Regions from separate parts of the Homo sapiens genome. Here region 2 is linked to region 1. Evidence: promoter capture Hi-C in human tissues and cell types (Jung and others, 2019). All regions are on one chromosome and are shown on one strand. Each heading gives the region's core, a stretch centred on a gene start or on the middle of the fragment in contact. The rest is flanking DNA. Distances are from core to core; before and after follow the strand shown.

The links. Contacts are between HindIII fragments. The study calls those that stand out against the background at their distance.
Region 2: a contact is called between a fragment that was not itself captured here and the fragment with the promoter of WDFY1 in region 1, in 1 of the 25 tissues and cell types used here (dorsolateral prefrontal cortex).

What each region holds. Positions count from the first base shown.
Region 1 is chr2:223,943,440-223,948,652 of GRCh38, reverse strand. It overlaps WDFY1 (WD repeat and FYVE domain containing 1), which reads left to right and starts at 3,318. Exons shown (of 12, transcript NM_020830.5): 1 at 3,318-3,505. The coding sequence starts at 3,369. LOC124907989 (a long non-coding RNA gene) reads right to left here. Exons shown (of 2, transcript XR_007088100.1): 1 at 4,246-5,213; 2 at 1-812. RefSeq lists a silencer at 3,567-3,746 and enhancers at 4,317-4,376, 4,387-4,506. The HindIII fragment of the contact is 3,551 bases long and covers 2,419-5,213 here.
Region 2 is chr2:224,832,265-224,837,881 of GRCh38, reverse strand. DOCK10 (dedicator of cytokinesis 10) reads left to right here. Exons shown (of 56, transcript NM_014689.3): 25 at 51-120; 26 at 3,619-3,732. Among named protein-coding and RNA genes, the nearest start is that of CCDC195, 120 kb to the right of the region's middle. The HindIII fragment of the contact is 5,250 bases long and covers 1-4,955 here.

The DNA of each region.
Region 1 (5,213 bases), core at 2,069-4,568:
TCTCAATTACCCTGTTAATTTCTCAAATAACTTCCTGACTGACACCTTGCTTCTATTCTTGCCTTTTAAAATTGAAGGCAGATTAGCCCAGGCGCAGTGGCTCATGCCTATAATAATCCCAGCACTTTGGGAGGCCAAAGTGGGTGGATCACCTGGGGTTGGGAGTTCGAAACCAGCTTGGCCAACATGGTGACACCCTCTCTACTAAAAGTACAAAAATTAGCTGGGTGTGGTGGCACGTGCCTGTAGTCCCAGCTACTTGAGAAGCTGAGGCACGAGAATCACTTGAACCCAGGAGGTGGAGGTTGCAGTGAGCCAGGATCGCACCACTGCACTCCAGCCTGGACGACAGAGTGAGACTTCGTCTCGAAAAATAAATGAATACAAATTTAAAAACTTGAAGGCAGATTAAACCAGCCTTCTGTTCGAAACTCTCCAATGGCTTCCTATCTCATTTGAAGTAAAAACCAAAGCCCTTATCAATGGTCTCTGGGCTCAACATGGTCTGTCTGGTGACCTGTCTGTGCTGTTTTTCTCTGAGCACTCCCTCACTCACTCTGCTCCAGCCTCACGGGGTGCCTGGCTGTCTCTACAAAACCCCTGGCATGTGCTCACCTCAATGCCTTAACACGTGCTCTTTTCTTTTCCAGAAAAGTATTTGGCCCACATTTCCACATGGCTTACTCCCTCCTCTCCTTCTTGGCTCAAAATGTAACTTTACAATGAGGCTTTTACTTGTCTCAGGTTGCATTCTCCAGCAGCAGATACGGTGATAGAGGTTGGCTCAGAGGGTGTTTATTAGGAATCAATGCCTGTGAAGGGAGGGGGAGGTACCAGGATTAGGCAGGAGAAGTCAGCTGCAGTACACGCCTTACAAAGCCTTGTCCAATCTAGGAGAGAGTTCTAGAGCAAGTGTTGCTCATCGGTCTGTCTTGATGGTCAGGCCTTTATCCTCCTATCTTGTTCAGTTACTGAATGTGGGCTTCCCTGTGAAGGGAACAACTGAGACCCAGTGGTTCTCAGCAGCTGGGGCAGTCCCTGAAGGAGCTGAAGGCTAGAGGCTCTCTGCTGACCACTGTTCTTCCCTGAAAGCAGATCTGTGCAGTGTATTCCTGAATCTATCACACCATCTATTTAAAATCGCAACATCCCCTAGAGTCCCTATCACCCTTCCCTGCTTTATTTTCTCCATAGCATTTAATAGCATTGAACATCTTCTAATATATTATATAATTTAGTTTACTATCTGTTTCCTTCACTGGGATGTAAGTTCTAACAGCAGAGGGATTTTTGTCTCTCTTGAGCACTGCTGCATTTAGAATGGCACCTGGCTCACAGCAGGCACTTGGGAGATGTTGGTTGATTAAACAAAGTTGTTCAGTAGCGTGTCTAGTCATTACACTGTACAGCCTCACAAAAACCATGTCTTATTAATCTCATCAGCAACAGCATATAGTAAGTGTGCGATATATGTCTGTTGAATATAGGAATAAATAAATTCATGAATGTTTGTTAATAACTTCATCATGAGAAAGTATTAGTACAATGGTGGCTCCTGCCCGTAATCCCAGCATTTTGGGAGGCTGAGGTGGGCAGATGATTTGAGGGCAGAAGTTTGAGACCAGCCTGGTCAACATGGTGAAACCCTGTCTCTAGTAAAAATACAAAATTAGCCAGGCATGGTGGTAGGTGCTTGTAATCCCAGCTACTCGGGAAGCTGAGACAGGTGAATCCCTTTAACCTGGGAGGCGGAGGTTGCCGTAAACCGAGATCGCACCACTGCACTCCAGCCTGGGTGACGGAGTGAGTTCGTCTCAAAAAACTAAAACAAAACAAAACAAAAACAAAAAGAAAGTTCTAGTAAATCACTGTACATAGAAGTACCATCTGATTCACATCCATAATTTAAAGTTTTTATTAGCTACCTTAAAAAAATAAGCAGGTCATATTAATTTTAATAGTATCTAACTCAATATATCCAAAATAGTATCATTTCAACATGTAATCATTGTAACAATTATTGATGAACTATATTACATCTTTTTTGTTTTGTGCTAAGTCTATAAAATCTTGTAGTATTTTGCACTTGTACTACATCTCAGTTTGGACAAGCCACATTTCAAGTGCTCTATAGTCATGTGGATAGTACGGTTCTAATGCAATTCTGCAATTCAGGTGTCAGAATAATATAGTGGGGCAGAAGTTTGGAGTCATTGACTTCCTGAGTCCAAATTTTGGCTCTTGAACTTACTGGTTGTCAATGACCTCTAGCCAAAAACCACCAGGAACAAATGGGGTTGATTGCTTGTTGGAGGGAGAAGACACACCATTGGGAATGGTGAGGTGTCTGGGTAAAGGGATGTTCGGACAGTTTTATTATAGGATTTGTGTTTGTGTTAGGTGACCTGGGAGAGCTTAAGGAAGAGAGGCTCTCCTGTGGACTGGATGTTGTCAGGAAATGCGTATAATTCTAAGGTTGCATATCTTAATAAATCTTATCTAAATGGAGGAAGACTAGATAGCGGTTAACATTATAATTAATAAAGAAATAAGAGTCACTCATATTAGCCAGGATAGGGGGATGTTTGGTAATTTCTGTGGCTTGTACATCGCTCATATTTTGGCCGTGTTTAGATGTGATTATGGAGTGGCCTCGTCTGATGTTTATGTTCCACAGGAAGCAAACACTTCCTAGCAACACCAAAGCTCAGCTGATAGTACCAGGCAGCTCCTGGAGATCAAGGGCTGCTTTTCTCCCTCTCATAGCTGTGCAACCTTAAGGTAGTGATCAAACTTCTCTGGTTGTTTTCTCATCTCTAAAATGGGAATACAAGAGCATCTATTTCATCTCTTAAAATTATCAGTATTAAATGAGATGCAAAGACACTGAGTTAATGCCTGGTATATGGTCACCACTCAGTGCTATCTATTGTAGTTCAAAGATTCTAAGATGCACTATATTTTTTCACATTTTAACATTTCTGAAAGTGTGTGCCTTTCAAACAATGGCTTCTTCAAATGGATGAAATGTAGTATTGTAATTTCTGAAATCTCTGGTTTGGGGGACAATTCCTTGTCCCCTCCAGGTGCTCAATTTATTCCTGGGTGAATGGCTTTACTTTTAAACCTTCCTTACTTTCCCCATTTCTCCGCAGGCGCCCCGTGGCATCCTCTCCCAGCCACAGACTTTCAGCTTGCGCGGCATCCCCAGGCAATACGGGCGGTGCGGCGGCAGCACTCGGGGGCTTACGGCGGCGCGGCGCCCAAGAGGCCCCAGCAGCCGAAGGGAAACCGGCGCGTCCCCCGCCCGCCCAGGCGTCAGCTGATGGGCTGCCTGCCGAGGAGGCCGCAGCAGTCGCCGCGCGAACATGGCGGCCGAAATCCACTCCAGGCCGCAGAGCAGCCGCCCGGTGCTGCTGAGCAAGATCGAGGGGCACCAGGACGCCGTCACGGCCGCGCTGCTCATCCCCAAGGAGGACGGCGTGATCACGGCCAGCGAGGACAGGTAGGGCCCGGGCGCAGCCGGGGCGGCCCGAACTCCGCGACGACGGGGTGTGGGGGCGGTGGGGTCCGCGGCCCCGGTCCTTCCTGCGTGAGGGGGCTCCCCCGGCAGCACGGCCCCACCCCCACTCTGCGCCCCTTAGCTCCGCCGGGTTCCCGGTTCCCTCCCGCCGGTCCTCCAGCCTCGACTTGCACCTTTCCAGCCTGGGACCCCGGTCTCGCCGCGCCCCTCCAGCCCGGATCCCCTGTCCCACCGCGCCCCTCCAGCCCGGGAACTCCGTCTCACCGCGCCGCCCAAGCCCGGGACCCTTGTTCCAACGTGTCTTTCCAGCCCAGGACCCCTGTTCCAGTGCGCCCTACCGCGCCCCTCCCAGCCCACCTCGCCCCTCCTGCTCAGGACCCCTGTTCCAATGCTCCCCAACGCGCCCCTCCAGTCCGGGACCCTTGTCCCACTGCGCCCGTCCATCCCGGGAGCTCCGTCCCACCGCGCCCCTCTAGCCCGGATCTTCTGTCCCACTGCGCCCCTCCAGCCCGGGAACTCTGTCCCACCGCGCCACTCAAGCCCGGGACCCCGGTTCCAGTGCGCCCCAACGCACCTCTCCAGCCCAGGACCTCTGTCTCACCGCGCCCCTCCAGCGCGGGAACTCTGTCTCACCGCGCTGCTCAAGCCGGGGACCCCTGTTCCAGTGCGCACCAACGCGCCCCTCCCAGCCCACCGCGCTCCTCCAACCAGGGAACCCCGACCTGCGGTGTCGCACTAGCCTGGGACCTTCGTCCCGGTCTCTCTCCCTGGCGGGGTTTAGCCTGGTACTCGGAAGGTGTTTCTTGGCCCTCCCGGGTCAGTTCCAAATCGTCTCCTCTGGAAGCGTGGAGGACCGGCGGCTGGTCACTGCGGACCCTGGTGCCCGGGGCTTGCTTCTTTGCGAGGAACTCCAGCCGCCTTCGCTCTCTTCCTCCCCCTGTACTCAGGGATTTCACGCCACGCCAGGCCTCTAGATCAGTTATTTTTGCCACGGCTGCTAGAATCACCTGAACTCTTATTTACTAAATAGGTTTTTGTGAAAGTGACTCATTTTTAAAAATATTTGGATGCATTTATTTTAAAAGGAAATCTTATTTATTAGGAAAACTAACATTACTCACCAGACAGAGTAAACTAATAACTAAAACATGTTAATTGGCATGCACACAGAGTCCTCTCTTGCACTGTGACATCTTGCATTGGACGCCCACCATGCTTTTGGGAAACACTGATTGGGTCCAGTTTTCTCATTTCTCCTAAGAGGAAGCCGAGGCTGGTGGAGGTGTAGCTTGCTGCTAAGTTACAGAGATACTGGTGAAGCCGGAAATGCAATCCAGAACTCCCACCAGCTCTGGGCCTGAGTGATTGGATTGGAACAGTATTTATGATTCGACTTTAAACTTTAGCGTCTTTCAAATCCTAAAGGTTTACAATGTCAGTAGCTTTCCGGTGGGAATTTGAAGGAAATGACTGATGTTTATTGAATGAAACTGTGTTTCCTTGATGCAATGAGCCGTCTTAAATAGGGATAGTCCACAAGTCCAAAAGCTTTCTGGAGGATGGAAGGTACTGCTATTCTCTTAAAGCTGAAGGCGTGGTCTCTAGCCTTTTGTAATTATACCTTTTGAAGTGACATTGACCCTATCCTGAATGGGAAGAAAAAGCCTGAAGCCCCCAACTCCTGTTGGTC
Region 2 (5,617 bases), core at 1,081-3,580, 890 kb before region 1:
GGTTTTTCTGCCCTCTCCAGAAAGGCCACTGAACAGCTTTGCTTTTGCAGGGTTCTGACCGACATTGTGGCCAAGTGCCATGAGGAGCAGCTGGATCATTCTGTCCAGTCATATATTAAGGTATGAAATGCCTCTTGGAAATTGCTCATATCCCCTTGTGCTGTGTGACTTGTCTCATTTCCTGTCTGCAGTAAGTGGGAAGTTTTCTCCCTTTAACTGAGTGGCGCCCACCACAGTAATATCAGGAATTTGCCTTAGCTACTTAGAATTCCATCTCTTTGCATTAATGGGCTAGGTGAATTTTTAAATGTATAAATAATGTGTACCTGTGCACATAAATAATTAAATGGGGAGAGAGAGGAAAGAAAAAGATAGAGGAGAAAACTAAAGTGCTGTCCTTTTGAAGTCAACATTACAAGTACATGAGATTCCTGTGTTAATTTAAGGAAGACTTTCCTGTTGGTTTGTTGAATGCTCTGTGTTTCCTCTGTAATGCTTTCTTAGCTCTTTCTATTGTTTCCTCAGGCATTATTTCATTTTCCCAGTTACTGTATATTTGTACCTGCTTCTGGTATGTTAAGTCCTTTATCTTCTGGCATGAACCACTTGCCCATTCCATCAGTGTGCACTGCTTCTTCCAGTGTCCTACGTCAAGTGTTCACTCAGAGACGCTTCTATTCTCATTTCCAGTTGGCCTGTGGATTAATGCCAGTGAACTTGTGATGATGTTTGCACTTTCATAGTTCCCACCTAAATGTCATCCTCTTGAATGAAAAGAAAGAACCCATCCAGAAATACAGAAGAGTATCTTAAATTACTTTATAATACATAGAGGACCTAAATCTCTTATTTTTTTTCCTATGCATAGATTAAATCTTTTTGAGACATAGCTTTTTCATCAAAAAACTGTATTCTCTTAATATGTATGCACAGACAGATACTCATATATTCAAGATGTCTAGAAACTTGTTAAAAAAAAAATCGGCCAAGCGTGGTGGCTCACGCCTGTAATCCAAGCACTTTGGGAGGCCGAGGCGGGCGGATCACGAGGTCAGGAGATTGAGACCATCCTGGCTAACACAGTGAAACCCTGTCTCTACTAAAAATACAAAAAATTAGCCAGGCGTGGTGGTGGGCGCCTGTAGTCCCAGCTACTTGGGAGGCTGAGGCTGCAGAATGGCGTGAACCCGGGAGGCAGAGCTTGCAGTGAGCCAAGATTGTGCCACTGCACTCCAGCCTGGGCAACAGAGCAAGACTCCATCTCAAAAAAAAAAAAAAAATTCCACACTCCCATAAAAGGAAGTAACCAGAAATTGCATTCTGGAGTGAACCCCTCTGAGATACCATCTGTAAGGAAATTTTTTTCATTACAGTTTTTATATCCATATGTTTTCTATCTGCCAGAAATGTTAGTTGTCTTCCCAAATGCCAAAGCATGAGTATGTGCCCTTTTTAAACATAGGCTATATGCCAAAAATAGTTATTTCACAATAATTTCTCTATTGTATAATTTTACCCAATAAGATCCACATCTCAACTGCAAAAAGCCAGTTCCACCTACACAAGCCTTTTTAGTTTGCTCCCTAAGATAGGGTCATAGCTTAGTTTTATAGAGTATCGATGAATTTACCATTCAACAGAATCACCTGGAGAACTTTCACCCTCTCAATGCTTCATTACCCGAATGTTTCATTTCAATCCTTAAAGGGACTGAGAAAGAGAAAAAAAGTTACTGATCCATCTTACACACAGGCATCTCCATTTCAACACATATTATTTTCCTCATGTCAGTGGGATCATTGAAAATTACATTAAGAACCCTCCGGTGTTGTGACTATTTTTGTGATTACCAAGGCTAGCTCTTTGTGAATACCTCAAATCTCAGACTTTCTACCGGTGACGCTCCTGGAGAGATGCATTAGAAATGCATCCTGGCGTGACCTTTATTTTTAACCAGGGTATCTGAAATACCCAACAAGACCATCTCACTTTATAATACAGGAGATTATCTACTTAGCTTGCTTTAAGTGATTCAAATCCAAAAATACACCTATGTGGAATTTTAGGCTGATAACAATTTTATAATAAATTTTAACATATCTAAAACAAATACCTCCTAATAAATGTAATCAACTCGCATTTTACTCGGGAAAGAACACTAAGCTGGCAAGTAAGAGACTAGATTCTAGTCAATTCTAGACTTAAGCAGTCAGCCTCTCTGAACCTCAGTTTTCTCCTGTGACATGAGATGAAATGACCAAAGGAACATTCAGTTCTATCATCCTGTGATTGGACTCTTGTTACAGTGCGTGCTTGAATGTCCTCCAAAGATGTGATATTCAATACAATTTGTATTTATTTAGAAGTTATCTAAACACCATTTCAAGTTCAGTGGTGCTAAATGCTGCTAACTCACTTCGTCTACAATATGCAAAATGCACACATACACCGTGTCTTTTTCAAAGATGCGTGTCTAAAGCCAGTCTAATTAAATGCCATGGTTAACAGTGATTTGTAGCACTGATGGGTTACAGTCAAAATTTTAAAATAAGAATATTTCAGTGCCAGTTTAAATGCCCTTCAGGCTAAATAACTGTGCATGGCATGAGCTCATTGATGATGACGTTACTCACATCTGAGGTATAACCCATGAGAGGGAAAAATTGTATTACTCTTGATTTTATCTAGTTTCATGCATCCATTAACTTCATCTTTCTCCTTTGAGATGAGCTTGGAGAAGTCAAATCCCACCATGACAAGTTAGGTGCCAATGTGCTACAAAGTTTAAAGAAACAGTTACAGATCCAAAAGCTAATGTGCCTCTACATTAAGCCATTCCTTCTCTTTCCTGCCTTCACTCTCAATTACGGTGAAATCCGAATTGTGAAAATTATGAAGAAATGTCCTTCCACGAGGCAAACCCAATTCATAAGTGAAATATTATAATTCAGTAATAAGCATTTTATATTTGAACTTTATGTATGTGCATAAATTGATACTGATATTCTTAAGAGATGAAGAAATACTGAAAACTAGCCATTATGTGCCCTCAGTGGTGCATGCCAAAACCAATTTTTTGAGGAAAAAAAATAAGTATGCAGCATTTGTTATCTTACTGATGGCCAATGTTCATGAACGCCTTGATAGTGTGTCTAAGCATGGGATCATAGACCCTGGGCTTGTGGGGAGCTCACGTACTGGCATCTGGAAGGCACTGGCTTCCCCACTTGGCTATTTGAGTGGGTGCTCTACCCTTTCAGGATGAAGAATTGCTACCATGCCACCTGTTACCAGTGGAGGAAGGAGAAGGGGAATGTGTCCTAAGTAGGTGGGTCAAAGCCCTCCATGTTTCCTTGAACGTGCTAAATGGCTCTCTGGCTCTTTCTCTTGATTTCTACAAAGAGTTTCAAGGAGAGCTTAGGTGAGCAAGGCCCTACTTCTGCAAAGCCCTAAATAGGAACAGGTGTGTACTGCTCTTATCATTGGGCCTGCATTTATCTCATGGCAAAATCTGGCATGAGCAGATAATTTAGAGACATAAGTTATTCACATGACATAGTTTTTGAAGCTTCATTTTTCAAAGTATTTAACTTTATTCACTTTTTGGATTTTCTTCAGTTCGTGTTCAAGACCAGGGCATGCAAGGAGAGGACTGTACATGAGGAACTGGCTAAAAATGTGACTGGTCTTTTGAAATCAAATGACTCAACAACAGTAAAGCATGTCCTAAAGGTAAGAATTTAAAGATGGTCCTTTAACTGTGAGTACTAGGCATGGGTCACGCTTACTCCTGGAAAATGATAGGAGTCATGGATTTTCATAGACTTTTTCTCTTGCAGTTTCCAGCATAAGGTTCATATTGAAACTTAGCATATAAAGATACTAAGCAAAAGAGATCTATATCGAGACAACATAGAAAAAAGTAGAGTGGGCCAGGTGCAGTGGCTCACCTCTGTAATCCCAGCATTTTAGGAGGCTGAGATGGGCAGATCACCTGAAGTCAGGAGTTCAAGACCAGCCTGGCCAACATGGTGAAACCCCATCTCTACTAAAAATACAAAAACAAAATTAGCCAGGAGTGGTGACAGATGCCTGTAATCCCAGCTACTCAGGAGGCAGAGGCAGGGGAATCGCTTGAACCCGGGAGGCAGAGGTTGCAGTGAGCCGAGATCATGCCATTGCACTCCAGCCTGGGCAACAAGACCAGAGAGAGAGAGAGAGAGAGATACATAGATAGATATTGTATGTTAGAAAAGAAGATGCATTAGAAAAATTGTAGAACAGGTAAGAATTGGGCATTGTGAGTGCTGAAGGTGCAGGGGAGATTTGAAGTTTTAAATAGAATGGTCAGGATATCTGATGGAGGAGGTAATTCTTGAGCAAAAAAAAAAAAAATTTGAAGGCGAAGAGGGTGCTGGCCATGGGGATGCTCAGAGGGAAAGACCTGTGTGAAGTCATCAGGCAGCAGCATGGCTGGTGTGTCTGCAGGAGACAGGGAGGACACTGTGGCAGGAGACAGGGAGGACACTGTGGCTGGAGCCAAGTGAGCAGAAAGAAAAAAAAAAGATGGACGATGAAGTCATGGAAGCCACTGGAGGCTTGGGAGTTAGCATAGGCCAGGCGTTCCCACTCAGAGCAGAACTGGGAGTTGTGTCGTTGGAGGGTTTTGCACAGAGGAGTAATGTTTTAAACCAAGCTGACCTTGGTTTAAAAGGATCCCTCTGATTGCTGTGTTGAGAATCGACTACAGTGGGATAAAAATGGAGACCACAACCACTTGAGGGGCTATCAGAGAAGCAGGATCCTCTGGGGAGAGTCACTGCTCAGTTAAAATATGGAGTGAAGGGAATGCTCGGAGAAGAATTGCATCTTCAAGAGATTGTGCTAACGATGGACCATGTGCTCTGGAAGGTGGGGTGGGTGGGTTTCAGGAGATTGGAAGCAGTGGAATGTGCAGATATATAAGGGAATATGTGGAGAGGGCAGTAGAGGAGTTGAGGCTTCATCTGTCATCAGACGTGAACAGGCAAAAGCTCAATTTCATTAGTGCTGGTGGTTTCAAGGAAAATAGTGGAGGCAGGCCAGAGTGCTAAGGGATGGAGAGGGGTAGGAGTCTGTTGAATTAAGAGACAAATGTTGGAACACTTGACACGATGGCTCAAAATATTTTGGACAAGATTAGGGAAAGAGGATTGCAGCAGTGTGCCTGGGATTCATTCATATTCCTAACAACATGTTTCACTTCTAATAGCCATTAGAATGCTATTGGAGTGCTAGAATAGTATTGGTAGCCATTTCCATTTCTTCTTACTAAGAAGTGACCACTTCATTAAGCCATAGCTGCCTTTGTAGAATATCAATCCCTTCTCTTTTTTATCTGAGTCAGTCTTCTGGAATTAGGACTGTCTTGTCAAAAGTTTATCGCAGCATTGTTTGTATGACTTAAAACAGGATATAATCCAAATGCCCATTGACAGTAGAGCAGATAAGTACATGGTGATTATATATGTCATGTGGTGACCATATGTGATCCCCCCAGCTACGTGCTTCAACATAAACGAACCACAGAACAGAATTTGTTGAATGAAAAAGGCAATCTCAGAAGAATACATAGAGG